Regions from separate parts of the Homo sapiens genome. Here regions 1, 2, 3, 4, 5 and 6 are each linked to region 7. Evidence: promoter capture Hi-C in 16 types of primary human blood cells and fetal thymus (Javierre and others, 2016). All regions are on one chromosome and are shown on one strand. The core of a region is centred on a gene start or on the middle of the fragment in contact, and the rest is flanking DNA. Distances in the headings are between cores, read along the strand shown. Region 1 overlaps HPSE (heparanase). Region 2 overlaps COQ2 (coenzyme Q2, polyprenyltransferase). Region 3 overlaps HPSE (heparanase). Region 4 holds the start of LOC105377310 (a long non-coding RNA gene). Region 5 has its middle 17 kb from the start of HPSE. Region 6 overlaps COQ2 (coenzyme Q2, polyprenyltransferase). Region 7 holds the start of THAP9 (THAP domain containing 9).

Region 1 (2,748 bases), core at 90-2,589, 430 kb after region 7:
TAGAAAATTTAAAATTACATATGACCTTGCATATGAGGCCCACATTATATTATATTTCCATTGGACAGTGTTGATTTAGGGCTGGGCTCTCTTTGGAGTTCTGCACACAGTTAGGCTTAGGAAGTATTTTGATTGGTTTCTTGATTAAGTCCCTCTGGGAAGACGACAAATTGAAAGATTTTTTCTTTCAAATTTTAGATTGCTCTATCATTGGTATTTAAGTTTTGTGTGGAGTTGGGCTGTACACAATGTATTTGCCATCATGGAGACTAGAACCACGCCAGTGACTAAGTTTGCTTAGGCCTCTTTGAAGTACCTTAGATGAAGGTTTGGGCCCTGATACTGTTACTCTCATGTGAATGCTTCTTTTCATTATATCAATCTCTCAATTCCTTTCCAAACAATCTTTTTCTACCATATCCTACTCTCTTTCCTTTAAAAAATATAATCTGCTTTCCCTTTTTATGGGCACTATTATCTCATGTGATCAGAGTCTAGTTTCAAACTGTGGCCAAGTTACTTAACCTCCCTGAGCCTCACTTTCTTCATTTTTAAAATGGGGGTGACAAAACTAGTCACTCACAGTGTTGTAGCCAAGACTAAATGGATTAATACCTAGAAGGTGCTTAGAACAGGGCCAGGCAAATGACAAGAACTGAGGAAGTGTCAGCTGTTTGTGTCCTCCTCTCTTTCCTTATTCCTTCAGCTTTCGTCTGCTCAGCTCTTGCCATCCCGCCCACACATCTTCACTTTTGAGGAACTGTAATAAATTAAACAACAGGCGTCTTACTCTCCTCTACTGTGGACCCCTACAAAGCTTAGTGTTGTCTTCTGAGATGGCTGGGCTGTTTGGGCCCTGTGCCCCTCCTGGGGAGATGGACCCTCACACTCTAATTTAGAAGCTAGGTCTTAGATGAGGAGAGGGGGTTCCTCCCTCTTTTAGGTCTTAGCAGATAACACTCTGGGTGTGCTTGTCGATGCGTCTGGGGAGCAGGTATGGCAGATGGCCTCTCCAAGCGAAGCGGGCTGGAACAGACAGCAGCCAGCCTTGGAGAGAAGCACGTATGGACAAGAATGAACTGTTTTGTAAACCAGAAAAAAAGTTTTATGTATCACATGTTATGCTCTCTTGGTATTTCATTATACTCCAGTCTTTAACAAAAAGGTGCAGAGGAGGGGAAAAAAGGGTGCTCTGGGAAATGAAGAGATGTATTTAAGAAGAATAAAGGTATCATCCTCACTAAATTGCAGATTGGAATTTCTACGTGTTAGGGGGGTGTTAGTCAATTGCGGGGAGCTTGACTGCTGGGTGATCAGGCCCAGATCCTGGAAGTCCCACTGTATGTTTTTTCTTTTGGACCTGTTACTCCAGGGGGGAACCCCCATCTGTCCTTTCTTGGGGAGAGGTTGGGGAATATGCTGGCTACAGCAATAGAAGAGGCCTCAGGTCCTCACATTTCAGTAAATGGACATCTACTTCATACCCATGTTCAGTAACCGCCCCCCCCCACCCCACACCCCAGCAAGCTAAGACTGGGGTCCTGTGATCTGGAGCCCTATGGTTCAGCATTTCTCTGGAACAATCTTCCTATCCCCCAACTAGTTGCTGCCTAGTATCAGCTTCCTATCCTTAAGGGGAAGGGCAGAAAGTAAGGATTCTTCCCCACCAGAAAATTGTAGTGCCAGAAGGAAAAGGAGAGGTTAACTATGATCCAAAGAAACAGAAAACCGGTGAATGGCTACCAAATGCTCACCATGTCCTAGAAAGAAACAATTCGTTTGAAACGTCAAACACTTACTATGGGTCAAACACTGAGAAGCTCTTACCATATCATCAAATCCTCGGGCAATAATCCTTGAGGCAAGCTTGAGAAATTCCATTCTACAGCTGAAGAAATCAAGGTTGGTGTGGCCAAGAGATATGGAAAAACCAAGTCACTCATCTTTGCCAGAGCTGAGAGTCAAGCCAGGATGGTCTGTCCATCTCTTAACCAGTACACTACCCATTAAATTAGCGCTGGCAACTATAGTGTGGGCTCAGGGAGGACAGCATCTAGGTATTTGACACAGAGGTGAGATAATGGTGATCTTTCCCTCTATCTGGGCTGGTCAAGATGTGGCCATCTCTGGAGGCTCCCAGGGCCTAAATAAGAGGCCTAGAAGACCTGGGATTGTCCCTGTAGCTCCCCATCTTGGAGTCAGCCTGCATTCATGGGGCAGGAGCCCTGAACCTGCATCAGGTTCCTTCTTTCTCAGGTAAGGAAAAAACTTAGAGCTGATAAGGCAGCACCACATTTTGCAGCCCCATTTTGGAGAGACATCTTTTTATTAGGACTTTGTAAGTCACTGCAGTAGTCTCCTAGGTCTCATTTATTGAATATTTAGATTTTTATTCCTGTTCTGTGACGCCCTTTTCATCTGCCTAAAAAAAAAAAAAGAAAAGAAAAAAGAAAAAGAAAAGAAAAGAAAGAGAAATCTTCCTAACACAGTCTTAAATACAGAAGGCTATGCACAATCTTACTTGTCCTACACTGCACAGCAAATCAAGCACTCACAGGCCTTCAGGTGCACCTGCCTGGTTTCCCTCCTCTTGGCTAGGGAAGTACTGGGGCAAGTGGGCAGTTTCTTTTTCAAATTTCCACTTATACCTGACCTTAGGTGGTGCCTATTCAACACTTACAGAATGAATGAAACAAAAAGGCTCATTTAGAGTGGGCGCTAAACAATGTGTACACATGGACTTAGTGG
Region 2 (2,844 bases), core at 242-2,741, 380 kb after region 7:
GTTCTAAATGCTTTATATGTCTAAACTTATTTAATCTTCAATGACATCTTTATATTAAACTTATTTATTTATATATTTACATTAGAGACAGGGTCTCGCTCTCTTGCCGAGGCTGGAGTGCAGTAACAAGGTCATAGTTCACTACAGCTTCTGACTTCCAGGCTCAAGCAATACTTCCACCTCAGCCTCCCAAGTAACATCTTTACATAGTAGGTACTGTTAATAACCCTATCTTACAGATGAGGAAACAGATAAACAGAGTGGTTTAAGTAAAACACAGTAGGTTTAACTACTTTCTTTACCCTGGAGCTATGAGTATAGTTCACAAGGGACAGAGGAGTAGCTGATCCTATCCTCCTAGGCTAGAGAAGAGAGAATACCACTTCACAGCTATTATTTCCTGGTACAATTAGAACAGAAGGTTCCACTAAAAAGAAAAAAATTCTAGACAGAAAGACGTGTAACCACTTATAGTGTTTTCTGTCAGGAACAAAACTTCCTTGGCCAAAAATCTGTATTAAAAGTACCGTATTCACTTACTGATAGGAATCTGTAGAGCTCCCCTACAGATGACAAGGGTTCCTACAGTGAAGGGGAAAGTAAGAAGACTTCTCAGTTCTATGTCTGCCACTTGTAAGTTGAGTGACACTAGACAGTAAAGTATCTTAAGGCTTAAGTCTTTGTTTCATCTGTAAATGAGGGAAGAGAACAGCTACCTCACAGAGTCGTTAAGAGATGACAATATTAATGATGTTATGACAACCGTAATAACAGATACATGGCACTTACTGTACCAGGTGGTTTCACAGAACACTTTTGACTCTCACAACAAGCCTATTCGATAGGCACTATTTTTATTACAACCATTTTACAAATACAGAAACTGACGCAGAGAGGGAGTAATTGTGCCCAAGACCACACAGGTAAAAAAAGGCTAAGGTGGTATTCCAACCCAGACAGTCTGGCTGCAGTCTGTGTCCTAAGTCCAATGCTGTCACTCTGTACTCCCTAAATCTCTCCATACACTTCAGTTTCACCTGTTCTTTTGTCCCTACTGATTCCTAGCAATGTTTTTTTTTTTTTGTCTTCCATATGACACTTTCATTCCCCATACTTTTCTGTGAAGAAAGACGCAGAGGTAGCAAAGACAAGAGACAAGTAGATTGCAAAAAGAAATGTTTTTGTAGAAAAGGGAAAAACTCTATGGGAGATGAAATAAAATGAGCAAGTTCTGAGGGGTGATGGACAGATCAAAAACAGATGATCTTCAAGACAACATAATCACCCATAAACGTGGTAAAACAAAAAATTACACTTCCAATTTGGTGGAAAGAGTGCCACCTGCTGACACTTTCTGGAATAAGGTAGTTTAGCCCATTTGAAAGAAGCTGTATTGCCTTCTCAAAAACAACGAAAACCTACTATTGATCAATGAAGGTAACAAGATATAACTTCAACAAAGTAAAACAACGAACACATAATTATCCCACAAAATAAGAATTTAAATAAAGAATTATCAAACCTGGAATTCTACTCCTGTCAATTATTGTTTCTGGCATATGGTAGGGGTTCAAAATACATTTGTTGAGCGAATTCTAACATAGTACTATTTAGTTTTCTGAAAAATCCTGTAATGATCACCTTATTTAGAACCAAACCATGCAGGCTGGTATCTTCCAAACATACACAATCTGTAAGTACAATTTTCTCCATTCCCCACTTCTAAGATAATAATGGCTATTTCTTCAGCACATATTATGACAGGCACTGTTCTAAGCACTTAACATATATTAATGAATTTTCGTGACCTCATAACGTCCATATTATCATTAATAGTATCTTCATTTTACAGATGAAAAACGGATGCCCAGAGAGGTGAAGTAATTTATCCAAGGTCCCTCAGATGAGCAGGGTGGAGGTTCACATCCAAGAGGTTTGGCTCCAAAGTTTTGCTCATAACCCCTTTGTTGCCTTCTGTTACATGGCGGAAGGTCCAGCCACTAAGATAGAAGCCAGAGGTTTAACTGGGGAAATGGGAATAATGGCAGATGTTCATCTATAAGGCTACACTGCCACTCCATGCCACAGACTCCAAGAACAGAATTACAGCCAGGCTTCAGATTGGAACTGGGCTTGGAAATGCATGCCTCTCAACGTGAATGTGGCCCCAAAACTCATGGGGGTCATACACAGCTTCCCAATGATGGCAGGGCTGTACCTATCATTCAGTAGGCTTTTATGCTTTGATAGCTGATTGTTATAACTTAGTGCTCTAATCCCAAATAGGTCGTGCATAAATCTAGAATACCAAAAGCAAGGCCTAATTCGGGTCTTGTACGGGCAAAAGTGGAGTAAATGTACCTAGGCCTTTGACTACATCTCCATACACTGCAATGGCAAATGTCATCATCTAGATTGGCTGGAGTTCATCCTTCACTTCTTCCTCCACGCTATCCAGCTTCTTCAGATATGTTCTTGTCTAGTCTCGTTTCCCATTTTCCACACCCACTTGGTGTTCCAGGTCAGGCTCGTATTCTTAGTGTTCTAACACTCCACCCTTGGGTCTTTGCAAAAGTACTTCCCGCACTAAGATCTCTTCCCTCCTCTGCAAAATCAACTTGTCCTTTGGAGTATAATTTCTTCTCGAAACTTTCCAGCAAGGGATCCACAGTAATTTCTCTTTTTCCTGTAGCACTTGCTTTTGTATCACTCATATTTGATCCATATTTTCCTAGCTCACCAAATAGTCTTTTTCAACTAGACCAGAGTTCCTTGAAAGCAAAGGGTTTCCATAGCTTTTTCTATCTCTATGGCCGGACAACGTAGTAGGAACTTATTAATTCA
Region 3 (2,790 bases), core at 135-2,634, 400 kb after region 7:
GTGCTCCTATTTTGAAAACACAATTAAAAATGTTGCCGTTCATGCTACCAATGTCTGGGCTAGAGCACACTGAGATCCTCACAGCTCTGCCAGCTGGGTTGTTAAGAGGCCAGCCAGACTATCCATTTTCAGACATAGGAAGGTAAAAGGCAAATTTTGTGGGTTCATGTGAATTCAAATTATAAACCATAAAAACAGGGGCTTTTCCTAGCCTTATAAAAAGACTGAAATGTATAAGAAAATTAAATCTACTGACATTTTTTATGAATTTATCCATTCAAACCATTCCCCTCGCTACTTCCTACTGGGGTCCTCACTATCCAGAGTTCCCAGTCACCAACAATCGGAAATGGTAGCTGGTCTTTTTTGGCTAGAATTAGTATTTCAGCATCATCTTATCAGGAATGATAGATTGAAACCTATCTAGAGAATATTCCTGAGATTTAGGAACATTTTTTGCTACCTAAAGCAAGAGTATGAGGCTACAAAAATCTCGATGTCTTCTCAACTCCAGAAACTGCGGTCACAACTTTTGAAAATAATATTGTTGTTATTATTGTTCTCCTCTTCAAGAATCACTTGAACCCGGGAGGCGGAGGTTGCAGTGAGCTGAGATTGCACCACTGCACTCCAGCCTGGGTGACGAGCGAGGCCCCGTCTCAAAAAACAACAACAACAAAAGTAGCATTTTTCTTCTAAAAATAAAATAAAATAAAATCGTTGTATAAAACTTTACTAAATTGCAACTGCCTATACTTATGCAATGTATAGACACATGCAACAGGGTGTTTGAGTAAAGTTACAGGCTTACCCACTAAAACTTGATGATTGGTAAAGGGTGTGTTTCATACTTACTTGTCAGTGTTTGTGCAATGAAGGTATACTCGAAGCTTCCTTCTCTTTGAACCTTGCACGCTTGCCATTAACACCTTGGTGCCCACCAATTTCTTGAACAGAAGAGATAGCCAATAATCCTAGTTGTGGTGGTTGGGGAGAAAGAGACAAAAATAGATGTTTACTTATGTCCTTATTTAATGAAACCAGTGGCAAGCAAATAGTTATCCTACAAAGAGTATCACTGTTATCCTGGGGGCATTTAAATAGGATTCATCTTTTTTTTTTTTTTCCCCTCACATGTGACCACCATGAATCTGAGAGCAGTATCGTGCTTGCTGCTTTTTATCACTGGAGGACACAATTCAAAAGGCCATAGCCTGTAGGGGATATCTGTCAAGAATGATCAGAGTTTAAGTATTCTTGGTTATCGTTCATCCAAGAATTCAAAGCAAAGCTCAAAGCCAAACTTTTAGACACACACACATACACAAACACATGTACACACAAAGACAAATTTTTAAAGTAAAACTTCTGTCTGTTTAGAGACAAATAATTTCATTTAGGCCAGGCACGGTGGCCAAAGTGTAATCCCAGGATTTTGGGAAGCTGAAGTGGGTAGATCACTTGAACCCAGGAGTTCAAGACCAGTCTGGGAAACATGATGAAACCCCTTCTGTACACAAAATACAAAAAATTAGCCAGGTGTGGTGGTGTGCACCTGTAGTTCCAGGTACCCAGGAGGCTGAGGTGAGAAGATCACCTGATCCCAGGAGGTCAAGGCTGCAGTGAGCCGTGATTGTGCCACTGCACTCCAGCCTGGGAAACGAAATGAGACACTGTCTCAAAATAACAGTTAAAAAAATCTTAAAAAAAAATTTATTTTAAAACCTTATTCCCCCCACCCCAATAAAGTAATGGATTAGGCAATGGTCATCAGTAGCTGTCAAGATCAAAACCAGACACAACCAGACATTCTGTGCTTCCAGAAGCAGATAATAAAGAATTCTTGCAAAAAAATACAATTAAAAACCTGAATAAACTCAAGCTTCTAGGTATAACTACCAGTTTACAGGAAACACAGGGGACAGAGGAACATGCTAAATGATATCATAGGGAATAAATTTAGCAAACTCTATAATGTAGGAAATACTATAGAACAAATTACCTGTTTTTTCACATTAATAAATTACAAGAGATGAAAGAGAGGGAGGAATAACTTAAAGATGAACAAACTTAAGAGACTTATCAACCAAATGTAATATATGGACCTTGTTTGGATTCTGATTTGAATAACTATCAACAATATTTTAGACAAGGAAAATGTGAGACACTGACAAAATATTTGGTGATACTAAGGAATTATTGTTATTATTTAAAGTATGATAAAAGTATTGTGTTTTTACAAAAAGGATACATACTAAAATATGTATTTTTTTGAGACATGGTCTTACTCTGTCACCCAGGCTGGAGTGCAGTGGTGTGAATGCAGCTTACTGCAGCCTCAACCTCCTGGGCTAAAGCGATCCTCCTGCCTCAGCCTCTCATGTAGCTGGGACCACAGGCATGTGCCACCATGCCCAGATAAGTTTTTGATTTTTTGTTGCCGTAGCTGGTCTTGAACTCCTGGGCTCAAGTGATCCTCCTGCCTCAGCTTCCCAAAGTGTTGGGATTACAGGTGTGAGCCACCACACCTAGCACATACTGAAATATTTATAGATAAAGTAATATATCTGAAATTTGCTTCAAAGTAATCTAATAGGTAGGAGGTGAAAAGTGGGAAGGATTACGGATTAAACAAGATCAAAGTATGCAGGAGGAAATTATATTTTCCTCCTACTCTTTAGTTCTTAGTTGGGATGGACCTCTGTAACAAGACAGAAAACAGGAGAAAACAAACAGAAGCTTGTTAACATGTATATTAATACATGTATGTTAACAGAAAATACCAGGGAA
Region 4 (3,078 bases), core at 139-2,638, 430 kb before region 7:
CAGCCCAAGCAGACAAACGCACAGCTCAAAACGAATGACCACAATTCTTTGTGAATGAGATCCATTATTCTGCTCCCTCTGGCATTCTTACCTGTGCTAGAAACCTGGGCTCTTACCTTCAAGGCCATCATCACTGAGCACAGGAGTGGGAGTTAGAAGGAGGGTAACTTAAATCACCACAGAGCTTCCTGAGCTTTTGCTGAGATTCAGGTAGTTTTGTAATTGCCCAGCTGGGTTCTTCTTGCCCACTGCCCAGAAAAGCTAATGCACTAAGAGCAGCAAGAGTGTTGCAGCAAATAATTTCATTATCACAGGGCCCACCAAGCAGATGGACGGGAAATAATTCTCAAATCCACCTCCCTGAGAATTCGGGGACTAGGGTTTTTCAAGGATAGTTTGGTGGGCAGGAGGCTAGGGAATGAGTAATGCTGATGGGTTGGGTCAAGGATGAAATCATAGGGGGTTGCTATTCTTTTGCTGAGTTGATATCTGGGTGCAACTTTTTTTAATGGGTGGTGCCAGTTGGTCCATACGAAATTCAAATCTGAAAAATATCTCAAACATCAGTCTTAGGTTTTATAACAGTGATGTTATCCACAGGGGCATTTGGGGGAAGTTACAAATCTTGTGACCAGTGGCTATGTGACTTCTGAGTAGTAAAGAGTTTTTTTTTTTTTTTTAGATGGAGTCTCACTCTATAGCCCAGGCTGGAGTGCTGTGGTGCCATCTCGGCTCACTGCAACCTTCACCTCCCAGGTTCAAGCAATTCTCTGCCTCAGCCTCCCGAGTAGCTGGGATTACAGGCACCCACAACCACACCCGGCTAATTTTTTTGTATTTTTAGTAGAGATGGGGTTTCACCATCTTGGCCAGGCTGGTTTTGAACTCCTGACCTCGTGATCCACCCACCTCAGCTTCCCAAAGTGCTGGGATTATAGGCATGAGCCACCGTGCCGGGCCAAGTAGTTTTAAACAGTCAAGTTATAAAACAATGACTGGTTAGAGTTTAACTCTGCCTACATCTTAGCAGAAGAAACAATGGCTGATTAGAGTTTGTGCCTACATCTTAGCAGAATTCAGGGCCCTATCACATTTCTAAGCTTGAGGCCTTTGGTTAGTTTTACAAAAGCAGTTTTGGTCCTGAGCAAGGAGGGGGTTAGTTATGAGAAGGAACTATTTTCATTTTTGTTTTAACATTAAACTATAAATTCGTAGGCCAGGCACGGTGGCTCACACCTGTAATCCCAGCACTTTGGGAGGCCAAGGTGGGAGGATCACTCAAGACCAGGAGTTCAAGACCAGCCTGGGTAATATGATGAAACCCCATCTATCAAAACAAAAGAAAACAAAACAAAAATTAGCTGGGCATGGTGGTTATGTGCCTGTAGTCCCAGCTACTCAGGAGGCTGAGACAGTAGGATTGCTTGAGGTTGGGAGGTCGAAGCTGCAGTGAGCCATGAGTGTGTCACTGCACTCCAGCCTGGGTGACAGAGTGAAACCCTGTCTCAAAAAATAAAAATAAAAGTAAATACAAAATTCCTCCTATAGTTAGCCTGGAATGAGCAAAGACAGCTTGTGAGGTTAGAAGGAAGATGGAGTCAGTTATGTTAGATTTCCCTCACTCATAATTTTTGCAAAAGTAGTTAGTCTTTCTTGATTAAGTCCTCCTGGTTGCTGTAAGCTTTTGCTTAGGTTCTAGAATTCTAAAAAAGTTGATTCTGGCAGTTTTTGCCAGTTTATTTATTGCTTTTTTGGAGGGACTTTTGATGTTCCTTATTCTTCCCTGTTCATGGATGTCACCCCTACATGCTTTTCTTACAATGTGACTTTTGCAGTCCTCTCACCAAGAGGTGGGGCCTATGTTCCATTCTATGAGACTGGGTGGGACTTACGACTGCTCCAACCAAACAAGGACAACAGAGGCCATGGTTTGTAACTTTCTAAGCTAGGTTATGATACAGCTTCTAGCTGACTCACTTTTTTCAAGAGCTGGGGTTAGACAATTGCTCTGGGGAAGTCAGCTACCACACTGTGAGAAGCCCAGATTCACCCATATGGAGAAAAACTAAGGCCTCAAGCTGACAGCCAGCCTTGACCTCCAGACACAAGAATAGGCTGGTCTTCAGATGCTTCCAGCGTCCAGCCTTCAAGCTCTCTAGTAGAGACCCCAGACTTCAGAGAAAAGCTGTCCCTGCTGTGCCCTGTCTGAATTCCTGACCCACAGAATCTGTGAGTATAATAAATGGTGGCTTTATGCCACTACATTTTGTGATAATCTGTTTGGCAGCCAACGTGAATCAAATAGTACTAAGCAGTGGACAGGATTTTTCATCCGTTTCAGCACAGCGAGGCTTTTAAAAGGCCTCTGCTGGGGTATGCAGTTAGGAACATCGAGATTGTCTCATCATTCCCCCGTCTCCTTCCAAGTGGTGGCATCTCTTATCTTCCTACATTTTGCAAGTGTCCCCATCTTCCCAGTCATACAGGCTTGAACCTTCAGAATGTCTTTGACGCTTTCTTCCCCTTCACCCTCCTCCACAGGCAGCAAGTCACACCTGTTGTCTTTTGCACAGTGCCTCTCAAATTCGTTTTCTTCCCATTCCTAGCAGCCTGTGCTTGAAGCTCCAGTAGTTATTCCTACAAAATAAAATGCCACAATAGAAAAAGACTGCTGATAATAAGCATAGTGCTTTCAGGCTTTATACTAGAAAAGGGTACTGCTTAAAGCCTTCCAAGGGCAAGTAATGATAATGCTTATGGATACGATAAGGAAGTCAAATGTATTTTGAGAAAGCTCTCTCCTAGGACAATGCAAAAAGCAAATCACCAGCTGGTCTCTATCTGGAGTACTTCTAGTCACTGAATCCACTTGTTGCTGTGTTTAGTCTAAGCCCTTTCCCCCCAGTGCTCTTAATTATCTCTGGCTACAAATCTAAATATAGTTTACAAAAATCTGGTCATCTTAGATGTTATTCTAATATTGACTGGTAAATAAATCTCTTAGTTCTGCTTTATACAGAAATATTCATTGAATACCTTACATCTTTTCTTTATTCTGACCCAGATAGCATTTGTGGG
Region 5 (2,840 bases), core at 340-2,839, 450 kb after region 7:
ACACATACATACACAAACACACATATTTATTTCAATTAAATATGAGATCACACTATACCCACTTAATAATTGAAAAGGATATCTTTTCACTGTAATAAACATGTTTTCATGCTCCATTTTAATAGCTGCAGAGTTTTTTACATATTAGATGTGTGGCAGCGTAAAACTTTGGCAGCAGTTCTCAAAATTTCTGATCCCAGGAACCATTTACACTATTACAAATTACTGGGGATTCCAAAGAGTTTTTTTCACATGGGTTACATCTGCAATATTTGATGCACTAAAAATTAAAACTGAGACATTTAAAAAATATTTGTTAAATAATTAAGAGTAACTATAACAAATACTTTTTTTCTTTTAGAGACAGGATCTTGTTCTGTTACCCAGGCTGAAGGTCAGTGGCATGATCATAACTCACTGTAACCTCAAACTCTTGGGCTCAAGCAATCCTCTCACCTCAGCCTTCCAAGTAGCTAGGACTGCTGTCAAGTACCATCACACCTGGCTTATTTATGTATTTATTATTTTACTTTAAAGTTCTGGGACACATGTGTAGAACATGCAGGTTTGTTGCATAGATATACATGTGCCATGGTGGTTTGCTGCATCTATCAACCTGTCATCTAGGTTTTAAGCTCCGCATGCATTAGGTATTTGTCCTAATGCTCTCCCTCCCCTAGCTCCCACACCCCCCGACAGGTACCGGAGTGTGATATCTCCCTGTGTCCATGTATCCTCATTGTTCAGCTCCCACTTATGAGTGAGAACATGCCATGTTTGGTTTTCTGTTCCTCCTGGCTAATTTTTAAAAAACATCTTTTGTAGAAATGGGGGTCTTGCTATGTTGCCAAGGCTGGTCTCGAACTCCTGGCCTCAAGTGATTCTCCTGCTTTGTCCTTCCAAAGTGGTGGGATTACAAGCATGAGCCACTGCACCTGGCCATAAACACATTTCATATTAATATAAATAGCATATTTTTATTAAAAAAACTATGTTTAAAACAAGAAAATCAGCGAGAAAAGTAGCATTGTTTTATCTGCAAATCACTTTAGTGTCTCACTTAACAAAAGGCGGCTGGATTCTCACTTAACAAAAGGTGGCTGGATTCTTACATGAATATCAACATTAAATTTGTTACATCATAATACATCATGTAGTGTCTGGAAAATCGCACTGTCCTCTCAGGAGAGAATGAGGGTGAAAGGAACAAATGACATTTTAATATTATTATGAAAAGAGTTTTGACTTCACAGACCCCTTGCAGGGGTCTCCAGACTCTTAGGAGGTCTGTGGACCACATCTTAGGAATTGTTTTAGAGATGTTACTCTATGTCCCTTTTTTCTTTCTAGTCTTCTTTTTTGAACAAGTAGCAAGCTTGGCTCATTGTTTCAAATGTAGGATGTGACACAGCGGGGCAAAAAAAAAGCAGAGAACAAGCTTTTATTTTCAAAAGCCTAAACCTAAATCCATTAAGATTCTGTGAGGTGCCTCAGAGTTAACACCTCACCACGGTGCAGTTTCCTAACCTACTGCACACCTTGACACACATAGAAAATGACAGCATTTGTAGAGCACTCTGGGAAAGCTGATGCTTTCGAGGGAATCCGCACACCCTTGGTGTAAAATACATTTTGTATGTTATATAATTATGATAAGAAGCATAAAATACAGGCCACACGTTTGCTAAATATTTTATTTGTAAACAACCTCCAAATGCTGTTTCTTACATTTTCTTAATCAAAGCTTGAATTCATGAAGATAACATTTTTTTTTTTGAGACAAGGTCTCACAGTGTCACCCAAGCTGGAGTGCAGTGGTGCAATCATGGCTCACTGCAGCCTCAATCTCCCAGGCTCAATCAATCCTTCTGCCTCAGCCTCCCAAGTAACTGGGACTACAGGTGCACATCATCATGCCCTGCTAAGTTTAAAATTTTTTTGTAGAGACAGGGTCTTGTTATGTTGCCCAAGCTGGTCTCCAACTCCTGGGCTGAAGCAATCCTCCTGTCTCGGCCTCTCAAAGTATTGGGATTACAAGTGTGAGCCACCATGTCTGGCTAGAACATAACTATTTAATATTCAGTGTATTTGAAATGTCTGTCCACCATCTTAATTAATGATTTTCAATAATCTCTTCAAATTCCTAATAAAAACTTTGCTCATGCAAGTAGGTAATAAACAATTTAAAAAATTTTAACAGTTGTATTTATTAAAAGAATCTCACAGCAATTCCTTTCTTTCATGAGAAAGATAATGTTGACCCAGAGTCAAATCTTAAAAAAGACAATGTTGAAATTTTTTGTGATAAAGTAAATGAATTTTAGATACAATTGAACATTTTCACATTACATATTGTAAAATAGTGATGAAGCTGCAATTGACAGAAAGGGCTTGCCGATGGCCGAGGGGCAGGTGGACCAATAGATGTTCCAGGTGATACCTGGGTGGACAGATGAGTGGAAGATCACTTCCTCCTGTCATCTGCCTGCTCCTGGCCTCACTCCTGACATGCATCACTCCTCAGCACTGTGCAAGTGCCCCAGAACTCAGACACAACCCTGCAGAACAGGGAAACATTTTAAGTTTTCTATCATTTCTATCCTCTTATTATAATAAAAATTGTAAACATACATAAAAGTTTGTAACCACCACCTAGATTCTACAATTAACTATGTGTCTATCCATTCAATCATCCCTCTCTCTATTCATCAATCTATCTTATTTTTTTAAATTGAGATACAATTCTCATAGCATAAATTCACCATTTTAAAGTGTACAATTCAGGGGTTTTAGTATATTCACAAGGTTGTGCAACCATCAATACTATCTAATTCCGTAAC
Region 6 (3,069 bases), core at 243-2,742, 360 kb after region 7:
AAGGAGTAAGACATGATCTGGGGAGAACTTTCCAGACAAAGTGAACAGTAAATGCAAAGGCCCTGGGGTAGGAGTCTGCCCAGCCTGTTTAAGGAAGAGTGAGGCCAGTGGGGCTACAGGTGTGAGTGTGAGAAGTCAGACATGAAGCCAAGTCATGGAGGGCCTGGCAGGTGGTAGGACTTTCGTTTTGTACTGAGTGACCTAGGGAGATCCTGGAGGGTTCTGGGGAGAGGAATGACATGACCTTACTCAGGTTTTAAGAGAATTACTCTGGTTACTGTGTTGAGAACATTGTGAAGGTGAGGGCAGGTAAAGGAAAAAACAGTAAACATTTAAATATCACTATCCTATAAACTATAATGGGATAAGATAAAAAAGATATAGACAGAAAATCAAGGTAGTCTCTGGTGACTGCCCACTTGTCTGTTCTGGTCACTGTGACTGCACACAGAGACCAAATCTCCCAAATAAAAGTCAGGGTTGGTAAACAGTGGTACATGTGGCTATAATAGCTAAATACTTCTATTTGGTTATTTAAATTCTCCTAAAACATAAAAAAACAGAATTGGTTTCCTAAATTACAGTTTTTGGCAGTGACTAAAGGTCACAATAAAGAACAGTAAGGCCCAACTTCCCATAGTTGCTTTTATTTTTCCCTAAAAAAAAGAGTCCATTTTCTTATACAGACATTCATTTATGTAAGACCCACATCAGGCTTTTTCTAAAGTGCCAAAACCCGTGCAATCCCCATAACTTCAGGTGAGAATTATAATGGGCAGAAGAATGTATCAACTAAAATACTCAAGGCCATCTCAAATCCTGAAGAGTCCCTGGTTTCTGTGACAAGGGGGAATTTTGCTAGCAAATAAGTAAAATCCAGGTAAATATGCTCTAAATCTTCATCTTCAGGTTCTTAATTCTTTAACATATTGTATCAGATTTTGTATTCAAATCTAATTATATTTTGTAAAAAATGTTTTAAAAATTCCTAGATAAATTTCATTCATTAATTTTCTATTTTATTCTCTATACCCTTCTTTGTTTTGTCTGTCTTCTTTTCTTTCCACAAATTCCCAAGGACAATCCCTAAAAAAACTATTAGTCCCAGTGTTCGGTTGGAGATAAATTTATTCCAACAATCCTCAGGTCTGTGGATGTCTAGAGTGTAAATCTGCAAGAGAGGAATACAAAGTTGTATTAATACCTAGTCTGGACTTTGGGTCATAACAAATAAACATGTTAACACGGAGGAGAAAACAGCAAATACAAAAAATACAAATATAAAAAATGAAAAATTAGCTAGGCACGAAGGCACATGCCTGTAGTCCCAGCTACTCAAGAGGCTGAGGTGGGAGGATTGCTTGAGGCCAAGAGGTCAAGGCTGCAATAAGCCATGATCACCCTACTGCACCCTCCTAGCCTGGGTGAGAGAGTGAGACTCTATCTCAAAAAAAAAGAAAAAGAAAAAGAAAAATTTACCATATTTTTCACTTGGAATCATCCAAGCTGTTTCTTAAGAATTTTCGGTTGAGGGTTGCATGAATGCTTGTGAGGCAACCCATACTGTTTTTAGTTCTAACGATTTAGAACGTTCTTCCTTATACTGACTGATCTAAAGTCTGTCTCCCTGCAACTCCTACCCTCCAGTTCTGGTTTTAGCGTCTGCAGCAAAGTTTCTCAATGGAGAACAAGTCCCATTTGGGCAGGACAACTCTAATGCAGGGCAATCTGGTGCAGCACAAGATATTGACTGTATCTGGCCATCATCCATATAGTCACCCCTCCTAGTTTATTATAACCAAAAATGCCCTCCCACATTTCTAAATCTCTCCTGTTCAGGGACCTACATTTAGGGAAGGGGAGCTAGAGACCTAAATCTGTTGCTAGTAATCTAGAACAAGCGTACTCCTTTTTCCCCATGGTAGCCCTGCAAATACACTAAGGAAGTCTCACGTATGTTCCTATCTTCCTTAGGCATGGGGGACTATTCTTTATTATGTGGTCTGCAGACTTACAATTATCATGATTTCCTTTCTCTTTAAATACTAAAAGGCTACGTCCATCTTTAAACACTGTATCGAAAACTGGACAGAGAGGCCAGGCGTGGTGGCTCATGCCTGTAATCCCAGCACTTTGGGAGGCTGAGGTGGGCGGATCACTTAAGGCCAAGAGTTTGCGATCAGTCTGGCCAACATGGCGAAGCCCCGTCTCTACTAAAAAAATACAAAAATGAGCTGGGCATGATGGCGTGTGCCTGTGATCCCAGCTACTACGGAGGCTGAGGCACGAGAATCGCTTGAAACCAGGAGGTGGTGGAGGTTGTACTGAGCCAAGATCGTGCCACTTCACTCCAGCCTGGGTGACAGAGGGAAGACTCTGTTTCAAAACAAACAACAACAACAACAACAACAAAACTGGACAGAGGACCATAAATGTGATTTAAAATATAAAGTGGGCTCCAAGTATTTCTTTTTTCTTCCTTTGTTTTTGAGACACAGTTTCCTTCTGTCACCCAGGCTGGAGTGCAGTGGCACCATCTTGGCTCACTGTAACCTCTGCCTCCCAGGTTTCAAGTGATTCTCCTGCCTCAGCCTCTCGAGTGGCTGGAATTACAGGTGCACACCACCATGCCCAGCTAATTTTTGTATTATTAGTAGAGACAGGGTTTATCCATGTTGGCCAGGCTGATCTTGAACTCCTGACCTCAAGTGATCTGCCCACCTCGGCCTCCCAAAGTGTTGGGATTACAGGCGTGAGCCACTGCGCCTGGCCGAATATTCCTTATAGTATTTGTGATTGTCTTAATAATTTTTGCCTTCCTGTACTATTTAATATTCAGGTGTTTAAATATTAACATATACCCATTATCCAGACCAGACAATCAAATGACAATGTCAGCCCTCATGGAGCTGAGCTATGACCAAAAAGGGATGCTGAGAAATTCTGAAGGGAAAAATGGTGACATCCTGGAAAGTCACCAATTCACATTTTAGTTTTCACAGTGAGGAAAACAGTGGAGGGGACACAGCATATGGTTTACTTTACAGACATCAGATTCTGATTTCCTTC
Region 7 (3,098 bases), core at 599-3,098:
AAATGAAAACATTTGTCCACACAAAAACTTGTACACAAATGTTCATAATAGTAAAAAAAAAAATTGGAAAACCCAAATGTCCACCAACTGTTGAACGGATAAACAAAATCTGCTACATCCATAAAATGGAGTACGATTCAGCAATAAAAAATAAAGTACTGATACGTGCTATAAGATGGATGAACTCTGAAAACATTCCAAGTGAAAGAAGCCAGTCACAAAGACCATATATTAGTTCATAATTCCACTTACATGAAGTGTACAGAGCAGGCAGAGGCACACGGAAACTAAATTAGTGTTTGCTGAGCGGGGTGGGGGAATATTTGGAGGTGCTGCTAGTAAGAATGAGGTTTCTTTCTGGAGTGATGAAAATGTTCTAATATTGATTGTGACTGTTCCACAATTCTGTGCATATACTAAAACCCACTGAATTGTACACTTTAAACCAATTAGTTGTGTGGTATGAGAATTATATCTGAGTAAAACTGTTACAAAAATATAAGGCAACTAATTTTTTCCTTAAAGATAGCTAAAAACAATGTTATTTTTATTCAGCCTCACTCGGGTCTTAATTGGTTGAGCAGGAAAAGGCTCTAACAGCCCAACCAACTTACAGTATTTAAATCCAGTTCTTACTCTCTGCACACACCTTACAGCCAAAAAGTATTTGCCCTGCACATCCCCCAGGGACCAATTTTTCCAAAGTTCCTTGACCATCTATCCTTAGGCCATGTGACTTTTAAGGAACCATAACCAAAAGCTATTAATTCCATTCAGAGAAGATACAAGCATATTATAATGGAAAACTGGTGTGAATAAGTAATACCTTAATATGTATCTTCGGCTGTAATCTGGACAAAGTAAACACAAAGGGGAAAAAGAAGCAATCTTGTTAGGCCTGGATATTTGGAATTATTTTTGTGTGCTATACAAAGAAACGGAAAAGTTGCAAACCCTTCTCTGTTTTCTGTATGCTAAGGATCTCCTTCTCAGAGACAAAAACCCACTGGCCCGTTTCCTTCTCTAAGCAAATTGAAATCTCTTCCTCAAACATAAGAGCTTATAACTAAGACATTGTTCTAAGCTCTATCTCCTGAAAGCTATTCATAATGCCTCATTCCCAACCAAAACCACTTAATTGCCCCTTGTCCCCTGCCCCTATTACTACTGAGGAGCCCCAAGAACCTTACCTTATTTCCTTCATTGTGGCAAAGTGTTTCAGAAAAGGGTTCCTTGAATTAAAAGTCGGCGTATCCTATTTGACTCCTGCTCCTCCGGTATCACATACCTACAGCCAACCATGCCAAGAGCTTCCCCATTATCTCCGCATCGGAGAGCTACAAGATAAAGCGCAAGAACACGACACGCATCTCAGTAAATCATATATTTTTGGCCCGACTCTGTCTTCAACACACCTAAGGCACCGTGTTTTATCCCTCTTCCATACCCTTTCCTCCCGATATCCTCCAGTTTCAGAGACCGCACCCGGAGACCCATTGGCAGGTTCCTGGATTCGCCTCAATTTTGGTCCTGCCTCTCTGCTTCGCATTTTCAGGCTTGGCCTCACAAGAAGGACGATGGCGCCAGATTGTGCCAGAATGGGTGAAAACAGAAGGAAAATAAACCGGTTGCAGCAAAACCCACTATTCCGCCTCCAACGCGGAGGGAGGAGCGGTCAAATGCACGTCTTCAGGCTCAGGCCCTTCCGATTGGCTGCTGGGACACAACGTGGCCTGTCATTGGCTACGGCACCGGCGCAGGGCCTTCGGAGAGGAAGTGTGGAAGTCCCGCGCCTCTAAAGCCCGCCTTTCGTGACAAATAAAGGTCGTAGCCGCAGAGTCAACGGGCGGAGCTAAAGTGGTCGTGATTCATGCTGTCGCGGGAACCCCGAAGGTGGGGCCCCACGTAACAAGAAGATGACCCGAAGTTGCTCCGCAGTGGGCTGCAGCACCCGTGACACCGTGCTCAGCCGGGAGCGCGGCCTCTCCTTCCACCAGTGCGTATGGGAGCAGCCTCGAAGCCTTCGAACTCCCTGCGGGGCCCGGCGGGCCGTGGCGTGGCGTGGGGCGGGGCCGGGCCGCACTGTGGGTCGCGCCGCGTGTGTGACGCGACGTGACGTGCGCAGCGTCGGGGCGTGGGAGCGGAATTGGGGCACTGTGAGAATTGAGATTCTCTCTCTTCCCGCCCAGTGTTTACCTCTGAATAGCCGGTTCTCGCACCGCCTACCGCTTTAAGGAGAGTTACGCGAAAGGAGTCCTCCATTAATTGGATGGTCTTATTATTTGAAGTGAGGAGGCCGAAAGGGAAGGCAGTTTAGGACAACGGTTGAAGTGTGTGTGTGGCGTCTTCCTGAGCACGAGTACAGATCAGTTTTCTCCTGTACTGCCTGACATTGCAAGTTCTTAAGTGCTGTTAGCCGAGCTGTGCAAGGCCGGTCCGATTCTGGCTGGATTTGATCATGGCAGGGAAGTTTCATTTGGCTCGACAGTGGGGAAGAATTTCAGATCAGTCTTATCTGAACTCATATCCATGGTTCAGACTGGTATAGGTCATTCAGTATTCAGGGTACACTAGCAAGTAGAAAAGTGGGTAAAATAGATCCTCACAGACAAAAGGAGCAGATTTATGGAAAGATCAAAAAGAACTTTATGGTTGGAAAGGGGGGGTAGGAAGAGGGTAGTTAGGAATGGCATGGGAAAATGTAAAGGATAGAAAGTGCAAATATAGAGGAGTGGAAAAGTACCTGAGAAACCATTTTAAAAATGTAAATGCCAGGTTAAGGAGTTTAGAGTATGTATGGTAGGCTATGTATAAAATTCATTGATTTTTTTTTTTTTTTGTTTTCTATTTTTTAAATAGGGCTGATTCCTCCACCTAAATTGTTAGCAGTGTGAACCAACTCATTGTGTATGTGAGACCATAATTGATTTGGGATTTTTCTTGTGATAGAGGTAGTTTTAAACTAGGGAGACATGAATTCCAATTTTAATTGAGTATTTACTGATGTCTGTACTTGGCTCTGGGTCTTGGTTTCTTCTTCTGTAAGAGGAATAAAAACCTGCCTTGTAGAATTTTGTAAAACTAAAACGTAAGACTTT

Evidence for each region. Contacts are between HindIII fragments. The CHiCAGO score rates a contact against its expected background, and 5 or more counts as called.
Region 1: a contact is called between a fragment that was not itself captured here and the fragment with the promoter of THAP9 in region 7, in 5 of 17 cell types (naive CD8 T cells, monocytes, non-activated CD4 T cells and 2 more). The highest score is 7.8, in naive CD8 T cells.
Region 2: a fragment that was not itself captured here is called in contact with the fragment with the promoter of THAP9 in region 7 in 16 of 17 cell types (fetal thymus, naive CD8 T cells, total CD8 T cells and 13 more); the score reaches 21.6 in fetal thymus.
Region 3: a contact is called between a fragment that was not itself captured here and the fragment with the promoter of THAP9 in region 7, in 1 of 17 cell types (total B cells). The highest score is 6.4, in total B cells.
Region 4: a contact is called between a fragment that was not itself captured here and the fragment with the promoter of THAP9 in region 7, in 1 of 17 cell types (naive CD4 T cells). The highest score is 5.2, in naive CD4 T cells.
Region 5: a fragment that was not itself captured here is called in contact with the fragment with the promoter of THAP9 in region 7 in 1 of 17 cell types (naive CD4 T cells); the score reaches 5.3 in naive CD4 T cells.
Region 6: a contact is called between a fragment that was not itself captured here and the fragment with the promoter of THAP9 in region 7, in 1 of 17 cell types (total CD8 T cells). The highest score is 7.0, in total CD8 T cells.

What each region holds. Positions count from the first base shown.
Region 1 is chr4:83,331,421-83,334,168 of GRCh38, forward strand. All of the region lies in intron 1 of HPSE (heparanase), which reads right to left. Among named protein-coding and RNA genes, the nearest start is that of HPSE, 2.1 kb to the right of the region's middle. The HindIII fragment of the contact is 1,049 bases long and covers 816-1,864 here.
Region 2 is chr4:83,280,892-83,283,735 of GRCh38, forward strand. All of the region lies in intron 1 of COQ2 (coenzyme Q2, polyprenyltransferase), which reads right to left. Among named protein-coding and RNA genes, the nearest start is that of COQ2, 2.5 kb to the right of the region's middle. The HindIII fragment of the contact is 3,876 bases long and covers 1-2,844 here.
Region 3 is chr4:83,301,295-83,304,084 of GRCh38, forward strand. It overlaps HPSE (heparanase), which reads right to left. Exons shown (of 12, transcript NM_001098540.3): 10 at 856-974. Among named protein-coding and RNA genes, the nearest start is that of COQ2, 18 kb to the left of the region's middle. The HindIII fragment of the contact is 992 bases long and covers 889-1,880 here.
Region 4 is chr4:82,468,089-82,471,166 of GRCh38, forward strand. LOC105377310 (a long non-coding RNA gene) reads left to right here and starts at 917. Exons shown (of 3, transcript XR_007058164.1): 1 at 917-2,229. The HindIII fragment of the contact is 581 bases long and covers 1,099-1,679 here.
Region 5 is chr4:83,350,666-83,353,505 of GRCh38, forward strand. No RefSeq gene overlaps it. Among named protein-coding and RNA genes, the nearest start is that of HPSE, 17 kb to the left of the region's middle. The HindIII fragment of the contact is 306 bases long and covers 1,437-1,742 here.
Region 6 is chr4:83,263,193-83,266,261 of GRCh38, forward strand. It overlaps COQ2 (coenzyme Q2, polyprenyltransferase), which reads right to left. Exons shown (of 7, transcript NM_001358921.2): 7 at 632-1,171. The coding sequence ends at 1,007. Among named protein-coding and RNA genes, the nearest start is that of COQ2, 20 kb to the right of the region's middle. The HindIII fragment of the contact is 4,496 bases long and covers 1-3,069 here.
Region 7 is chr4:82,898,887-82,901,984 of GRCh38, forward strand. It overlaps THAP9 (THAP domain containing 9), which reads left to right and starts at 1,849. Exons shown (of 5, transcript NM_024672.6): 1 at 1,849-1,996. The coding sequence starts at 1,917. It overlaps THAP9-AS1 (THAP9 antisense RNA 1), which reads right to left and starts at 2,030. Exons shown (of 4, transcript NR_034077.1): 1 at 1,448-2,030; 2 at 1,191-1,337. It also overlaps a transcript of SEC31A not described here. RefSeq lists enhancers at 1,294-1,813, 1,429-1,548, 1,814-2,333 and a silencer at 1,859-2,208. The HindIII fragment of the contact is 4,998 bases long and covers 1-3,098 here.